6 separate regions of the Homo sapiens genome follow, and all the other regions are linked to region 1. Evidence: promoter capture Hi-C in 16 types of primary human blood cells and fetal thymus (Javierre and others, 2016). All regions are on one chromosome and are shown on one strand. The core of a region is centred on a gene start or on the middle of the fragment in contact, and the rest is flanking DNA. Distances in the headings are between cores, read along the strand shown.

The links. Contacts are between HindIII fragments. The CHiCAGO score rates a contact against its expected background, and 5 or more counts as called.
Region 2: a fragment that was not itself captured here is called in contact with the fragment with the promoter of FAM135A in region 1 in 1 of 17 cell types (fetal thymus); the score reaches 5.4 in fetal thymus.
Region 3: a fragment that was not itself captured here is called in contact with the fragment with the promoter of FAM135A in region 1 in 1 of 17 cell types (total B cells); the score reaches 8.4 in total B cells.
Region 4: a contact is called between a fragment that was not itself captured here and the fragment with the promoter of FAM135A in region 1, in 1 of 17 cell types (activated CD4 T cells). The highest score is 5.8, in activated CD4 T cells.
Region 5: a contact is called between a fragment that was not itself captured here and the fragment with the promoter of FAM135A in region 1, in 1 of 17 cell types (M2 macrophages). The highest score is 5.3, in M2 macrophages.
Region 6: a fragment that was not itself captured here is called in contact with the fragment with the promoter of FAM135A in region 1 in 1 of 17 cell types (non-activated CD4 T cells); the score reaches 5.6 in non-activated CD4 T cells.

What each region holds. Positions count from the first base shown.
Region 1 is chr6:70,412,181-70,414,880 of GRCh38, reverse strand. FAM135A (family with sequence similarity 135 member A) reads right to left here and starts at 1,373. Exons shown (of 22, transcript NM_001162529.3): 1 at 1,179-1,373. FAM135A-AS1 (FAM135A antisense RNA 1) reads left to right here and starts at 923. Exons shown (of 2, transcript NR_147708.1): 1 at 923-1,044; 2 at 1,819-2,053. RefSeq lists silencers at 857-1,006, 1,347-1,566. The HindIII fragment of the contact is 2,225 bases long and covers 119-2,343 here.
Region 2 is chr6:71,294,187-71,296,886 of GRCh38, reverse strand. It overlaps OGFRL1 (opioid growth factor receptor like 1), which reads right to left. Exons shown (of 7, transcript NM_024576.5): 4 at 492-570; 5 at 326-392; 6 at 70-215. All of the region lies in intron 3 of LOC124901339 (a long non-coding RNA gene), which reads left to right. Among named protein-coding and RNA genes, the nearest start is that of OGFRL1, 6.7 kb to the right of the region's middle. The HindIII fragment of the contact is 3,243 bases long and covers 1-2,700 here.
Region 3 is chr6:71,364,107-71,366,857 of GRCh38, reverse strand. No RefSeq gene overlaps it. Among named protein-coding and RNA genes, the nearest start is that of MIR30C2, 12 kb to the left of the region's middle. The HindIII fragment of the contact is 154 bases long and covers 1,379-1,532 here.
Region 4 is chr6:69,785,230-69,787,929 of GRCh38, reverse strand. All of the region lies in intron 2 of LMBRD1 (LMBR1 domain containing 1), which reads left to right. Among named protein-coding and RNA genes, the nearest start is that of LMBRD1, 10 kb to the left of the region's middle. The HindIII fragment of the contact is 6,423 bases long and covers 1-2,700 here.
Region 5 is chr6:71,013,954-71,016,653 of GRCh38, reverse strand. No RefSeq gene overlaps it. Among named protein-coding and RNA genes, the nearest start is that of B3GAT2, 58 kb to the right of the region's middle. The HindIII fragment of the contact is 922 bases long and covers 947-1,868 here.
Region 6 is chr6:69,832,931-69,835,630 of GRCh38, reverse strand. No RefSeq gene overlaps it. Among named protein-coding and RNA genes, the nearest start is that of COL19A1, 32 kb to the left of the region's middle. The HindIII fragment of the contact is 1,249 bases long and covers 701-1,949 here.

The DNA of each region.
Region 1 (2,700 bases), core at 124-2,623:
AGTGTATGTTTGTAGGTCAACCTTTAACAAGTCTTAACCCATTATAGTTTCATTTAGTCTGTACTCAAGTTGCTTTCCCAGGCATGCCAGGTAAACATAATTCTTAAAAATTAAAGCTTTAATCAGTAAGTGTAACCGATTTGTTGCTACTGTCACTCTTTTGATGATACTTCCACCAACCGGTAAAGAAAGAAGAAATGTTATTAAACTGGAAGATGAACTAGAAACATTGAGTGGATACCTAGCTTAGGCAGAAAGCAGCAAGGACTAGAAGGGTATGTCACAAAGAAGTCTTCAGAGATTTAATAAAAAGTAAAACAAATGGAATGAAGTTAAGAGGCTTGACTTATACAAATGGGGGGGGGAGGGTGGAAGAGTTTTGGAGGGGAAAAAATTAAGATTAGAGACTCACTGGGTGCAGAATGGAAAAGGACGTGAGGATAGGGGCCATTAGACAGAAAGCGATGAAGCAGGGTACCAGAGGAAAGAGAAGGCAGTGAGGGTTTCCGAAGCTAAGATGGGGCATGGAATGAACTCCAATGCAAAGCGATGCTAAAGCAAAACACAATCGGCAACTAACAAAAAGGGAACCAGGAGGAAGTACCGAAAGGAGGTGGATGAGAGGAAAATAAAACCAAGGAAGAAATTATGGAGGTAACAAGAGTGAGAAACCTGGTCGGCCAGGGTAAGGAGCTCCGGACAGGGAAGAGCCAGGCAAGGGATGGAAGCACAGAGATACGCTGCTTCCCAAGGAGGGACCACCCGGGCAAAAAGACACGTGGGAGGCGCGGGATGAAAAAGCAGAACCACGAAAGCGGGTAAAGGAGGGACAGAGCGACGAAGATGGAGCAGGGGTGAAGGGCAAACACGCTAGGCGCGAGGTTCAGGAAGAACGGGTCGAGGGACGCGCGCAGGGGCAGGGGCGGCCGCGGGCACCGGGAGAGCAGCGCGCCGCGGCCCCTCGCCTCCCTCAGAGCGCTCCGCACCGCCGTCCCCACCGACCTTCAACGGGGCCGGGGCCAGGCTCCGACCGCCAGCAGTCGGGTGAGGGGCCGCGGCGGGCGAACGGCGGACGAAGAGGAGGCCGCTTCCTTCCTGGCCCCTGGGCAAGAGGGACGGAGGGAGGGGTCGTGGGTGTCGGGAGCCGGGGGAGCCAGAGGGGACAGTAAGGGGGTTACCTCTCGCCCGGCTCGGCCTCTTCCCCCGCCTGTCGAACGGAGGAGCTCGTTGTCCAGCTGCAAGAAGACGGCCCGACCCGGGTCAGCACCATCCCGCCCCGGGCCCCCTCACATCGCCATCACAGCAACCGCAAACACCGCAACCGCGGAGCCGGTTCGTCACCGCGGCTCGGCTACTGGCCCAGCGCGGCCAGCGAGCATGCGCAGTCGCCCCAGTCCCGAGGGAGCCCGGGCCAGCCGGCTATACCTGCGATCAACAGGTCCCCGGCCGCACGGCCCCGCCCCCGGCCTCTCTCACCTCCTCCTCCCGCCTCTTCCCTCCCCTCTCTGAGGCTAGGCCCCGCCCCTTCAAGCTCCGTGCCCCGCCCTTCAGGAGCTTCAACTGCCCCTCCAGCTCCAGCGCCAACTGAGATTTCGAGAGATTTGTCCTCCCTACCAGGCTCCCGTTCCCAAGTTCCCGCGAGAACGGGAGGTTTGCGTCAATAAAAGGCGCGCGTCAAGAAAAGGGGCTCGCTTGTGGGTTTAAGGGATGGAACTTGGAGGTGGTTGAAGAGTAGTGAACAAGAAGAGGGCAAAAACACGGAGTTCGAGAACTTTAGCCGTTTTTCTCACAATGTTGTTTCTCCTTTTCTCTCTTTAGCTCCTCCGTGCAGTCCCGGGTAGAGAGCCCGGTCCCTGCGCTAGTCGATTTGTGCAGTAGGAAAGGAGGCTGCAGGGGATCTGCGCCGGGGCAGGACAGATGCCTTTCGGGACCCAGTGTTTGCATCTTGGGAGATGTGGGTGCTGATCTGGTTGTTTCTTGGTTTATGACGCCAAAAAGGGCGGGAGGGGGCTGATGAAGTGAAGCCTTTCGCTAATACATTCCGTTAACAGAAGCCCACGAAGGATCATTGATTTATTTCACTCTTCCCTGTTTCTGAACCTTATCTGGCAAAAACTTTTGTGGTGCATAAAGTTCAGTATGTTGCTAAAGCTGAGTTAATGAAAGGAAAATTTCAGCTGCGACTCTTGTTTTAAAAATGAATCTAGGATGGATAGTGGTGTTGGTTGCACAACAATGAATGGACATAATGCTACTGAACTGTGCACTTAAAAATGGTTAAAATGGTAAATTTTCTGTTATGTATATTTTACCACAATAAGAATGAATTAGAAGGGAAAAGCTTTGTGCATTCATTTGAAAGTAATGGTGAGGTCTTGTAACGTAGGCCATTTAGGGGACAGGTTTTGAATATATCTTTGTACCAGTTTTTTTTTTTTTCGAGTGTGTGTGTGAGACAGAGCATTGCTCCGTCGCCCAGGCGGGAGTGCAGTAATGTGATCTCGGCTCACTGCAACCTCTGCCTCCGGAGTTCAAGCAATTCTCCTGTCTCAGCCTCCCTAGTAGCTGGGACTACAGGCGCACACCACCACGCCTGACTACTTTTTGTATTGTTAGTAGAGACGTGGTCTCACCATATTGGTCAGGCTGGTTTCGAACTCCTGACCTTAGGTGATCCACCCGCCTTGGCCTTCCAAAGTG
Region 2 (2,700 bases), core at 83-2,582, 880 kb before region 1:
TCATAGAGAACTCTGACCAAGGGAAAATAACTGTGCTGGCCCCTGATTTATCACAGGGGCTTTACTTACTCATTCAGATGCTGAAATCTTTCCTGCCAGTTAACAGCCCGAGCAACATTTCCAGTTTTATCAGTCAGTTTTATTCCAAAAAATTCTAGCATCATTTTATAAGCCAGGAGGAATCTTCTAATTGCTTCTTTTGTTTTTTTGAATTCCTAATATAAAAAATGAAAAAAGTCACCTGAAATGATTCAGTAGCTACAAGGACAGTGAAATAGCAATATTATTTGGCCACCCTGTATAAAATGAAATGAGCTTGCATTACCTCAATTTCATATGTAGTTAGTTCTTTGGCATAGAAGTTCAAGCCTTGTTCTCTCAGGGGGAAAAGCCTATTTATTTTAAAAAAATAAAATTTTTCTATTAACGTTGTCTGGAAAACATACATGATTAAATAGGACATGGTTCAAGATAGATAATATGTAACTGACCATTGAATGTAAGTGTGGTTGTGCTCCAGTTTTTCATAATCTCCTTTCCATTTACTTAGAACTTCTTCAATGTAAACACCTAAATAGTAAATATTTAAAAATGAACCAGACATTTCAAACATTGTGAAGGCATTTTAAGATTCGAATCACTTGAGTTTTATATGAAAACTTGTTTAAATTTAATAATAGCACACAAGAATAGTGCTTTTAAAAAGATGAATACCCTATGCCCATATATTCGGTTATGTGATAAATCTAATTAAAAAAAATTAATAGCACCTCAAATTGCACAAGGCTTTGTTGGACAATGTACTCTAAAGCAGAGCTTGGCAAACTGTGGCCTGCCAGCTGTTTTTTAAATAAAGTTTTATTGGAATATAGCTATGCACATTCATTTATGTACTGTCTATGGCAGTTTTTGTACTACAGTAGCAGAGCTGTGTAGTTGCAATACAGACCCACTGTCCCCCAAAGCCCAAAATATTTACTATTTGCCCCTGTATAGAAAGTTTGCCAATCCCAGTCCTAGGAGTTATATAGTTCTTTAAATGCTAAATTGGATCAAAATGAATTGCATCCTAGGGAAAAAGAAAGAAAGGGGAGTAGAAATAGAAGAAAAGAAATGAGAAGGAGAAAACAAAGGAGAAGGAAAACGAGAAAAGAAAAATGTAGGAAAAAGTTGTAAGTGCTTACTACATGCTGTGCCCATATTACACAGAGCGCACATTTTCCAGCTTAGTCTTCACAGAATGCTGCCAGTGTTATGATCCTCATTTTAACAATGAAGAAACTGGGAGATTTGTTCAAAGTTACACACTAGTAAAAAAGTAAATCTTGAGTGCAACATAGGTCTTTCTGGTTCCAAGAAGTAAGCCCTTTTCACCCTGTCCACTTTTCCTCTACAAGAACTTACAAAAACAAAATCCTCCTGTTCCTAAGTCTGTCAAGGTCCTTACAATTGACTAGCCATTTAGTCAATGTTGTAGAAAATAAAATAGCAATATAATATTTCTCCGAACATAACTCATCTCATTCTTGTTTCCTCCAGAGATCACCAGTTTGTAGTAGAGGCCCACTCTCGGAAGGTTTGGTAAAAAGTTGTTTTGAATCATAATGTTGGCTTTATTGGCATGTTGAAACCATTTACCTCTGTAATTTTCCATTTGTTTTCCTTTCCAACTACCACTCCTCCTGCCTGATAAATAAATACCATTGCAAGATTATGCTTACTGGCAAGTAGTGTGTGTGTGCGTGTGTGCGTGTGTGTGTATACTAGGGAGGAAAGTGAGTTGATATAATTTGTATAATAAACTAGGATAAACATTTTATCTGACCTTAGCTAAAACTTCTGACCCCCACCAATCATAAGATTTCAAAATAAACTTTGTAGTAAAGATTACCAAAAATTCAATATATTGCTTGAAATTACTTTTTAAATTAATATTTACAAAATAAATTCCCTAGTAGAAAAAAATAGAGTTAAATACTATCATAGCTTTATGTTTAATATTTTTAATATGTGAAGGCATTCCTTTAGGAAAATTGTATGAAATTCAAATCAGACTCAAATTAACAATCTATCATTGCATTTCTTCAAAATATTTTTCTACCCCAAGTCCTAACAAAATGAATAATTTGGCCAATATTTTTCCATTAGTAAATAAAGCAGCACATTTCTATCATTAGTAAATATAACTGTGCAATTTTATCCAGAGGTTTCATTCCACATCACAGCAGACTTTCAGGACACCAGAAAGTTAAAGACAAGTAGATCTGGCCACGTCAACGATGTTCTCAAATATTAACTCCCAACTGGTAGGTCTGTTGGTACACAGTACTGGGACTCCCTCCTCCCAAACTCAATCCAGGCTTTAGACCTCTTGCCTCGAGTTAGTTCACCAAAGAATGCAAGGTCCTGCCACTTGAAAGCCTTGCAGTCTATCTCCTTCCTTCTGTGACTCACACTGCTGTGGAACTGGCTCAGTTTCCACTGAGAGCAAATAGCAGAAGCCAGGGCAGTCTGACCACCTCACACAGAAAAGGGCTCTTGGGAGAGAAGCCAGCTTTCCTAGGGTGACCTGGATAAAATTAGGATGACCACCATGAACCACAGCATGATGCCTCAATGAAATATGCAATGTTGTGGTCATATTACCATAGCAGCTGCATCTTCTCACTATGGGTTTGGAAAATATCCTAGGAGGGCAAT
Region 3 (2,751 bases), core at 206-2,705, 950 kb before region 1:
TGATGCTGCAGCCAAGGAGATGGGAGCTCAGTCCCAAATCCATCTCCCTGACCAACTAAAACTAGGGGTTTATATAGCAGGGTCTTCCCTGCTATGTAACAATGTGTAAGAAAACAAGAACTAGAGAGGAGGGGTAACGAAGCAATCATGATGAATGAAGGGTCTGGCATCTCATTGTCTGGATGTGGTGATCTGGTGAGTTTCAGTTCTTTAATTTTCTTTTTCTTTTGAGAGGTCTGAATGTGGTTTCCTGAGGAAGGAACTCTGATAAAACAAATGTAAGTTTCAAATTTTAAAACCAGATGGGCAATTTCTATGTTTATCCAAAAAAAACTGTCTAGGGGACTATTGGGTCGGTTTCATATATATATAAAATCACTTTATGTACACAACACCAAATTATCCGGGTTCATATGTTTAAATTTAGAATTGTGGGGATTTCCCAATCTACCAGCTGAGTATGCTCAACAGGTTAGCTGGATAGCATTGACTATCATGACAGTGAACAACAGAGAATCACATGCAACTCTGAGTCTTTCCTGAGGAGTATCTTCCTGAAACTAAATGAATAGAAGATTCTGAGAACCTTGCTTTTTCCATTATTTGATTATGGAATGACCTATGGGGCAATACATGTTCATGTAATATGGAAAAAACAAAAAGAAGGCTTTAACCGCTTAATTAGCAGGCCTAATTTTTTAGAGTTGGGATTCTCTCTTTCTTTTACTTGCTGAAAATTGACTGTTTGGTTACTTTCACTTTATAAGTTTACTTTATTCATTTAATCACAAAATTCCTAAGCATTCAGTGACTCATAAAGTAGATTATTTGTTTATAATCCTGCCTCATTCTAGAAATGACTAAAGGCAATAAAGTTATGTTTAACCTTGGCAAATATTGGTTAAATGATACTAAGCTAACTTTTTTGGGATGAACTATACAGTGAATAGATTATGTAGGATTGGGATGTTTTTATTTTAATTTAGAAATAATTATAGATTTATAGGAAGTTGCAAAAATTGTTTGGAGAGATCCTATGTACCTTTCACCCAGGTTCCCCCAGTGGTCACATTTTACAACATTTGCTACAGCACAGTAGCAAGACCAGGAAACTGACATTGGTACAATTGTGTGTGTGTGTGTGTGTGTGTGTGTGTGTGTGTGTGTAGTTCTACACCATGTTATTACATGCATAGATTCTTGTAACCACCACTGCAGTTAATATACAAATTAGTATACAGATTACTTTTGCTATATCATTTTTTTCTAAAATCTAAAGACATGAAACTTTTTTGAATCTTAAAGGGATGAAGCCCTTCTTGGTGACTTGAACAGCATCATCATTTTCTGTTGGTAATAACAACTAGCAAATAAAGCTTAGATGAAACTTACACTCCTGTGTAAAGTGTAGCTCTTCCAGTAGGTCCTGTGTTTAGTCTAATATCTACTTAATTACAGTAAGTGTTCAGGCTTTTTGTTGTTCTATTTGTTTTGCGAGCAGGGATTTGATATAAATCTAAATACGACAAGCTTTCGTTAAAAAAAATATTGACCTTCCATTTAGAACAATGTGGTCTTTCACTGTATTGAGCTTATGTGGATGTATATTACTGTAGAAGAATTTTACAGGAGATAAATTCCTATGAAATATTCTCATTGCTATCTTAATTAGAAATAATCTTTTTATGCCCCCACTGTAGGTGGTAAGTCCCCCATGTTCAGTGAATATACTTGCGATTAGGTCATAGTCTATTATTAGGAACATACAGGCAGCCAACTGGCAAATGGATTGTTATCCTGCCTAAGGAGAAGAGAAAAAAATTAAGGTAAAATTAAAATGCCAATACATGCTGAGAAAGAGCTAATAGAAAGCATGTGACATTATGTACACTGGTGATACTCAAATGAAACAATGGAACCTATTAAAAGGTACCTATGTGGATTTTATTCTTTGAGAAATGGACTAGGGTAGGGGGTAGAAAGGCAGGGAAAGAATGAAGACAGTGTATTGAAAGAGAAGATTGTTTGACCCATTTATCTGAAATAAAAATCCTAAGTTTTATAAGATCCTCAAATATTTGGCTACATTTTCAGGTAGATGTGCATGCATAAATGTTAAATGGCTAAAAGAAAATGGGTTATAGTCTACCAATAGTGTGTCACATAGCTTTAAAAGTACTGCTTTAAAAATCATCAATTTAGAGGGAGGATTTGGGTGGCAAGCAACAGGACTCTGCTTTCAATCCTGTCCTACACCACATTTTAATTTTTATTAAAATGAAAACATTGTTGGAATTATGATTTATTTTTTAAAAGAAGCAAACAGTGTTACAGTAGATGAATCAAGGTCCAAGTGAAATCTCAGCAGCCTGAAAGGATGGGCAGGGTTGGATACAAAGAAATTGAATTGGTATAAATATGGAAGTCCAGCTCCTGGAGTCAGACAGCTAATTGCACAAGGACTTCATGGGGGACATGTGACTTACCATCACATGTGGAAAAAGACTTGTGAATTTTCCTAACCACTACCTATGTGGCCCACAGAGTGACATGATGTTCCAAAAAACGAATACAACCTGTATGCGATCGTAGACACATACACCACACCCCAAAACATGCTACACAGGATATAATTTTCAAAGTAGGACAACAAACTGCCTACTTTATTTTAAGTTGGCATTTTCCAAGTAGTTCTGTGTTCATTACTGCACAATAGAGGTATAAGTAAAGCAGGGCATGTCTAAAACAATG
Region 4 (2,700 bases), core at 172-2,671, 630 kb after region 1:
TATAAAAATTGAGGGTGCTTGTTTTAATACATGTGCCCTTAAAAGAAAAAAAATATGGCTGTAGTTAACACACTATATTTGTTAAATCTAAATGTTACACTAATATTTAGAAGGGGAAAATATCTGTTAAAACTTTTCCCTCTACTTTTTTAAAACTTTGTTTCATTATTAGGATATTAGTTATTCATCAGTTGTTGGTTCTTGTTTTTTTCTACTTTTCTTTTTTTGAGACGGAGTTTCACTGCAACCTCCGCCTCCTGGGTTCAAGCGATTCTTCTGCCAGAGCTTCCTGAGTATCTGGGATTACAGATGCACACCGCCATGCCCAGCCAATTTTTTGTATTTTTAGTAGAGATGGGGTTTCACCATGTTGGCCAGGCTGGTCTTGAACTCCTGATCTCAGGTGATCCACCCGTCTTGGCCTCCCAAAGTGCTGGGATTACAGCCATGAGCCCCTGTGACTGGCCTTTCCTACTTTTCATTATTAAGTTGTCTCTAGTTCTGTTTGCTTTTAACTTAGATAATGTATCAGATTTTTCTTGGTAGTTTTTTTGATACCTTGAAACATTCTGTGTGTCTGTATTTTCCCTTCTCATTTTGGGCGGCTCGGTGAGGATTAGTGAAATTCATGAGTTTTTATTTGAAACTGGACTATTTGCTGACTCTCAAAAGTAGTACTGAAAAAATTTTTGAAAACATTTTCCTGATAAACTCTAGACAGTAGTTTTTCCTAAAGTTATTACTGAATTCAGGTGCCTAGTGAAAGATAAGTTTAAGTATTTAAGAATTAATTCTTCAAACTTCATGCCACGATTGTAAATGTAGTCAGAGTAAAAAGGATGCCAACGTGGTTTTGGTCTATTCCAACCTTGTTTGTAAAGATGAATGTACAAGTTGACATTGTTTTCCATGATGAATGCTAATGTATAATAATATTTACAGTGTGCATTTGAAATTCCTAAATGAATATATACATTCTCTAACTTTCTCTACTTCCACCTCAAATATTTTGAAGCCTCTCTCTAATTATGGACTTGTCTTCTAAGGTATAATTATTTGGAAACTCTACATATTAATGATTGCTAACATTTTTCTTAAAAACAGAAGGTGCCCAGGCTTTTCTGTGAGCAGGCAGTCATTGCTAGTTTCTTTATTTTTGTTTTAGTTACCCTTCTAGCTTTCTCTGCCTTCTTATGGCAGGGGTATATTATAATGCCTGAGTTGTTTCTGTTGACCTTTCTTTCAGCATATGGCATTATTAATAATTTTAGCTAGATAATTTGTTTCTAGCTTCTTTTCTAAAGTAATTAACTTTTTAGATAACAGAAGAGAACCTTTTAGAGTACAGCTGGAAGTGCTGTCTTTAACAGTCTTTGATAGTTGGCCAGTAACATTGGATGGGGATATACATGAAATATACTGATCCAATAGTAAAAAAAAAAAGAAATCGACACTAATATGAATAAATATTCTTTCTTTTACACAACATGTAAAAATAAAAAAATTAGTTAATATTAAGGTATGTCATGAAAACATTTAATGTTTTGGTGTTTGTTCATATCTTACTCCTGTTCCCTAATTATGAATATCTTTATGGACTGTTATTAGATGTCTGGGCTAAACTCTACTGCTCCCTCATTCCTATTTTCAAATGGTGGGAACTGTATCTTAGAACTTTGTGCTCTTTATTGAACCTTAAATATGTTTATTTACTTAATATTTACTAAATATATAGTATGTGCCTGACAATTGTAGGTACTGGAGATTAATCATTAAGGCAAATGAGGTTGCTTTTCTCATGGAGCTTAGTCTGCAAGGCCAGATCAATAATCAACAAATAAGATAAGGTAACTTTATAGTGATAAATTCTATGAGGAAATAGATTGATATGAGAGTCTAGTCAGGTTATGAGTGTTTTGGAGAGGGGGATAGGAAGGCAAAACTGCTGAGGTTTCTTGCCATGATACCTGGATGAGGAGCCAATCTAGTAAAGAGCCAGAGGGAGAGAGCCTTTAGGGAGAAGCAGCAGCAAATATAGAGGCCTTTAGGCCAGGATGAACTTGGCTTATTTGGCTGACATGTATTGTTGAGGGTTTTGCTTTGGTAAAAGCTGAGATCCAGAATAAGGCAGGAGCCAGACTGTTCATGACTTTTAAGTCATATTAATAAGTTTAGATTTTCTCCTAACTGCAATATGAAGTTAATGAAGGTAAAAGATAAAGGTGACTTGGGCTAGAGTGGTGCTAGTAGAGAAAAATGATTAAAATTGGCATGTATTTTAGAGGTAGAGCTGCTGGGATCTGCTGATAGATTAGATATAGGGGGACAGGTGAAAGAAAAAGAAAATTGGAGCACTGATGCCTAGGTTTTTGTATACCTTAGAGAAATAGGGAAACTTAGAGGAATAAGAGGGCATGTGCATGGGCAAGTGAGGGGGTGTAGAGAAAAGAGTTATAGTTCGGACAGGCTACCTTTAAAGTGTGTACTGTACTATCTATCCAGGTGGAGGTGTTAAGTAGGGAGTTGAAGCTCTGTGAAGAGCTTAGGGCTGGAGAGAAGTATTTGGGAAGCAACATATGGATGATATCTACAGTTATGGACTGACTAGCAGCTGGGAAGACTGAGTAGTCAGAGAAGCCTTGACACTGGACCGAGGACTGGAGTTCTCTATCGTGTAGAAGGTCAGCTGAAGGGGAGAAT
Region 5 (2,700 bases), core at 158-2,657, 600 kb before region 1:
ATGGGTGTCAGAAAGAACATTGACATTATCAACCCCATAAGTAAGATATTATTATTACAGAAGATAAAACTTAGATTGAGGTTTAATAACCTGCCCAAGGTTAACCACCTAATAACTGACAGAGGCAATATTCTGTCTCGAATCTGTCTAACTCCACAGCCAATAGTTTCAACCACGTGGGCCGAAAATGCCCTAGCACCTTGCTACTCAGTATGGTCCACAGACCAGCAGCACAGAGGCATCACTTGAGAGCTTGATTGAAATGCAGAATCTCAGGCCCCACTGGCAAATCAGAATCTGCATTTTAACTAGATTTCCAGGTGATTCCGTGCACGTTAAAATTGAGATACACTGCTGTCTCTGACCTGCCCTCTAACTCCCTGCCATTGAGAATCTCCTGGGCCTCTTAACACATCTTCATTATGTTTCTATGAAATTTTCTGCTCAGCCCTTCTGCTAGCCAAAGGGCATGAACAAGGGGGTAAAGATACCTGATTGATGAGCGTCAGAGAAAAGAGGTAGGTAATAAAGAAGAAGGGAAAGATGTTGAAGCTTTCTCTGAATGTTTTAACTGGAAATAATCTCGCTCATCCACATCACTCACTTAATATGTACTTAAAGTCTAATCTTCTTATCATTTCAAGTGTCCTTGTTTCATCTCTCTAATCATGTTTTAAGCACATTATACATAGGATGTGTATGAGTAGTGGATAGAATAATTTTTTATGTAGCCCTGACTACATGAACTCCCAATTTCAATTGGCTATGTTGAAATAATAAGAAAAAAAAATGTGAGTCCATCTTTTCATGGCTTAACATTTAAAGGATGAATATAAACCTTAATTCCATCACTAGTTCATTAGTTCAATTCTGGCTTAACACAGGTGCTGCCAACCTGTCCCCATTTTTCTTTTCTTTTTTTTTTTTTTAAACAACACTTCAAGCTTATTCTTTCCAAAATCAATTTAACTATTTTCCTCCAAAAATGACTTTTTATCTTATAGTATCTCAACTTACACTAAGACTTTCCATTCAGGCACCCCAGCATTACATCATGGACCTCAGTTCCTCTTTCTCTGTCCCTAATTACAATTGATCCTACCTCCTAAATCTCTTTCTCATTTGTTTTTGTGTGTTCATTCCTACCTCCATCAGCTCAGTTAAAGCCCCTAATATCTATCACCTGGACCATTGAAACAGCTTCCTAATTGCTTTTCCTGCCTCTGGTTCTCCTCTCTTCAAATGGTAAACAATTTCCTGTCTAGGAAACAAATCTGATCATGTCACTCTTCTGAAAAACCTCTAATGGTTCCACATTGTTCATGGGGCAATGTCCTGACTCTTAACCCAGCACTCAAGGCCCTTGAGAAATGCCCTGGCCTGCAATTTGGGCCTCATCTCCCTGCTCTTCCCCGTGTGCCTGGAACTTTAGTGTCCCTGAATGGCTCACTCATTCCCGGATGTATCTTCTCATGCCGTTCTCTGCCTGGCATGCTCATGCCCCCTCTCCATTACCAAACTCTTAATATTTATTACCAGTCCTAGCAGAGTTGTCACTCCTCCTTGAAGCCTTCCCTACCCACCACCACCCCCCTCTAAAATAGTGGTAGACAAACCATCAGTATCACCTGGAGCTTGTTAGAAATGCAAATTCTCAGAACCCACCGAAGACCTACTGAAGCCAAACCTCTGGGCGTGGTCACAGCAATCGGTAGTTTAACAAACCCTGCAGGTGATTCTAATGCACGTTTGTGTTTGAGAACTACTGCTCTAAAGACTATTTATCAGCTATTTCTCTTCATACTAATGGTAATTACCCAAGTTTCTTCTCCATTACTTAAGAAGAAGTATCTCACATGCAGGAAGCTTGTCTTACTCATCTTAGTTACTTCAGTGTCTGAAACATAGAAGTCTATCAATCGCTCTGCAAATCAAATCCGAAATAAATAAGTTGGGGAAGGGGCTGTGATGGGGAGATATTGGTCAAAGAATACAAAATTTCAGTTGGGATGAATAAATTCTGGAGATCTATTGTACAGTATGGTGACTATAAACAATAATAACATATACTTTTAAAAATATTATATACTTGAAAACTGCTGAGAGATTATCTTAAATGTTCTCACCACAAAACATAACTCCGTGAGATAATATATATGTGAATTAGCTTGATCAATCATTTCACAACATACACATATTTCAAAACATTACATTGTACATTGTAAATATATACAAGTTTTATTTGTCAATTATACCTCACTAAAGCTGGGAAATTTTTTAAATAAATTTTTTACCTAAAATTGAAGAACTCCTGTTATCATACTCCTGGCTTTTTACAGTCCTATCTATAACATTAAAATTTTTTAAACTATAGTTTTTCCTCATGTCCCTTCCCTAACTTGCCAGATTCTCCAGATGTCAATCCTTCCAGAGTTGGATGGTTCTTGTCCCCACAGAACAGAGTGTGAAATCCCAATAATCAACCCAGCATGGCAGGCAGCCTCCAACACCAGTTTTTCTTCCTTTGACAATGGACCCTGTGCAGCAAGCTTTTAGGAACCAGCTTTAGTCCAAGTGCCTGAAGCACTTTATACTCATTCATCTGAAATTGCTGGTTATAGGACAATTTCACAGACACAGACACACACACACACACACACACACACACCCCTTGTTGAAGGCCCAAGTAAATATTTAGCA
Region 6 (2,700 bases), core at 76-2,575, 580 kb after region 1:
TACATTTAAACACAATGATGTCAGTGGTTTCATTATGAACTTCGTTCTCTGGTGCTTATGAATCAGCAGCATAAATTCGCAGTAAGTGTAATCTTGGTGTATAATGAACTCCAGTGTATTTTAGAAACAATCTAATTTTAATAAAATCAGTATTTTATAAAAAGAACAAGATTCCAGTTAACAGTTTTAATACCAAAAGTATCTTTTAGTATTGAATGGAAAATATTTTAAAACAAAATGTTTTTGCTATCTGCATTTTTTCACGGCTTAAAGATTACATTATACATTTCAGCTAATCATTTGTACTGCCCTTTTTGGTCAATTTAAATATTCCTCCAGTTGAGTTTATTGTGCATGTGTAACTATTTAGAAATAATTAAAAGAAAGGAAATAAAATTTTACAAGGGTTTTTAAAAGAATGAGAACACAGATTGATTTAGTTAACTGGAATTTTGTTCATAAAAAGACATCCTTCATGCTTGACAACTCACCATAGTATTCATGTTATATTCCTACATAACCTTTAAAAATATTTATTAGCTACAAAAAGAGTAATCACTTTTGATTATTCTGACAAAAATCTTTGGAAGTTTCACATTGAAAAATGTCATCAATGCTTCAAAATTATAATACTTTAAATTTATGTAGGACAGTAGTATCTCAAAACACTGTTTAATATATCACCTATTATCAACAAGCTTTATGTAAGAGGCCACTTTAAGTGCTTTAACCTATATTTTTCTATTCCTTAATTGTTCTACCTATACTTAATTAAACTTCTGGTTTATTTTTTTCTTCTTGCCGTGTAGTTGAAAATGTGTTTATTACTCTAGGAAAATATTTAACTACCCAATGCCAGGATTCAGTGGCTACTGGGAGCAGCGAAGTCTTAGTATTCAGGCCATTTGACACTTCTCAAGAGCTAAAACATAATTAGGCAATACTGAACCTGATGAAGGGCAAAATAAAGCATCCTTCAGTATAGCCACTTCTACAACACCCTGAAGAATTAGTCTCATCCCAACTGACCCAACCATACACTGTTCTGAAGAGGATTCAACACATTTATCAGTTGTTCTTAAATAATCCCCTTAGTCCAGTTCCAACCTTTCAACATTGTATCATATTGTTAGTTTCTATAGAAATTTTATTTCCAATCTTTTCAAAAATATTGCTTAGGACTGTAATCCAAAGCAAGCATTACTGAGCCACTTCTGGGTAAAAAGTGCACCTATCAGACAATAAGAAAGCAAATTTAGGGGAGCAAGAGGAAAATTGTCAAATCACTGGCTTTCCAGATAAGACAACTCTGAGTTTTAGTAAGGTACAAAATGTGGAATGATCACCTCTGTCAAAATTCAACTAGAATGTTTTGGACATTTGAATAAAATTGGCAGATTTAATTATGCTTTTTATTTTCAAATTGGTTTTTGGGACTCAATGCAAACATTTGAAATGTCAAGGATTTAAGCTATTTGTTAACCAATTTACAAATAGGAGCATATATATCTTACTTTGCAAAGTTACCTAATATGTTTTTTTAAAAAGGTAATTAATTTGTAAATATATATTCTTTTCTCCAAAACAAAATTGCTCTTATCTTATGGTTTTCTACAATACAGAAACAGTCTCTGAATATATAACTGCCTAAAGGTTTCTACTTTTTTATTTTTACTCATCTAGATAAAAAATTCAAAACTAATATATGAACTATAGTGCTCCTGTGCGGTGAATACTCCAAAAGGGCAAATTTCTTAGAATCATTAGAAATACAAAAGTTAAAGAGAAAAGCAAATAAAAGTTGAGGGGGATCGAATCTTTATGGAATTACTGCAGCAGTTGGTAGATAAGACAATTAGGCCACATTGATAGAGAAACAAATGCACAAACACATGGAACTTTGATCAATCATCTAAAGTTGTTTCTCTTGAGATCATGATGAATAAGCTTACAATATCTGATGAGAAAGAATCCTAAAACAGGTACAATCATCCCTTGGTATCTATGGGAGATTAGTTCCAGGGCCTCCCTCAGATACCAAAATCTGAGGACGCTCAAGTCCCTGAAATAAAATGGGCTACTATTTGCATATCGCTTATGCACATTCTCCTGTATACTTTAAATCTCCCATAGATTACTTATAATAGCTGATACAGTGTAAATGCTATGTGAGTAGTTGTTAGACTGTGTTCCTTAGGGAATAATGGCAAGAAAAAAAGTCAGTATAAGTTCAGTACAGATGCAAATATTTTGATCCATCATTGGTTAATTCCAAGGACATGGATCCCATGAATACAGAGGGCCAATTATACTATGTTTTGGGAACTACTCTTTTTTTATATAATTTTTTAAATTAAAAAAAATAAAGACAAGGTCTCACTATGTTTCCCAGGCTGGTCTTGAACTCCTGTGCTCAAGCGATCCACCTGCCTAGGCCTCCCAAAGTGTTGGGATTACAGGCGTGATCCACCTTGCCTGGCCAAGGAACTTCTCTTTTTTTGTCTTGTTTTTCTTAAGTTGGTTTTGTCTCTGGTTATTGCTAGAGGGAATTTGTCTCTAATTCTAAATTTCTCTGGGAAAAGCAACTTTCTATTAGTAAAAATGTTAATGAATTACCAATGATATCTTGAAACTACAAAAGTGTTCCATGTTAAATGTGCATTTTATAATGATAGAAACAATCCAAGTCTTGAATTACAT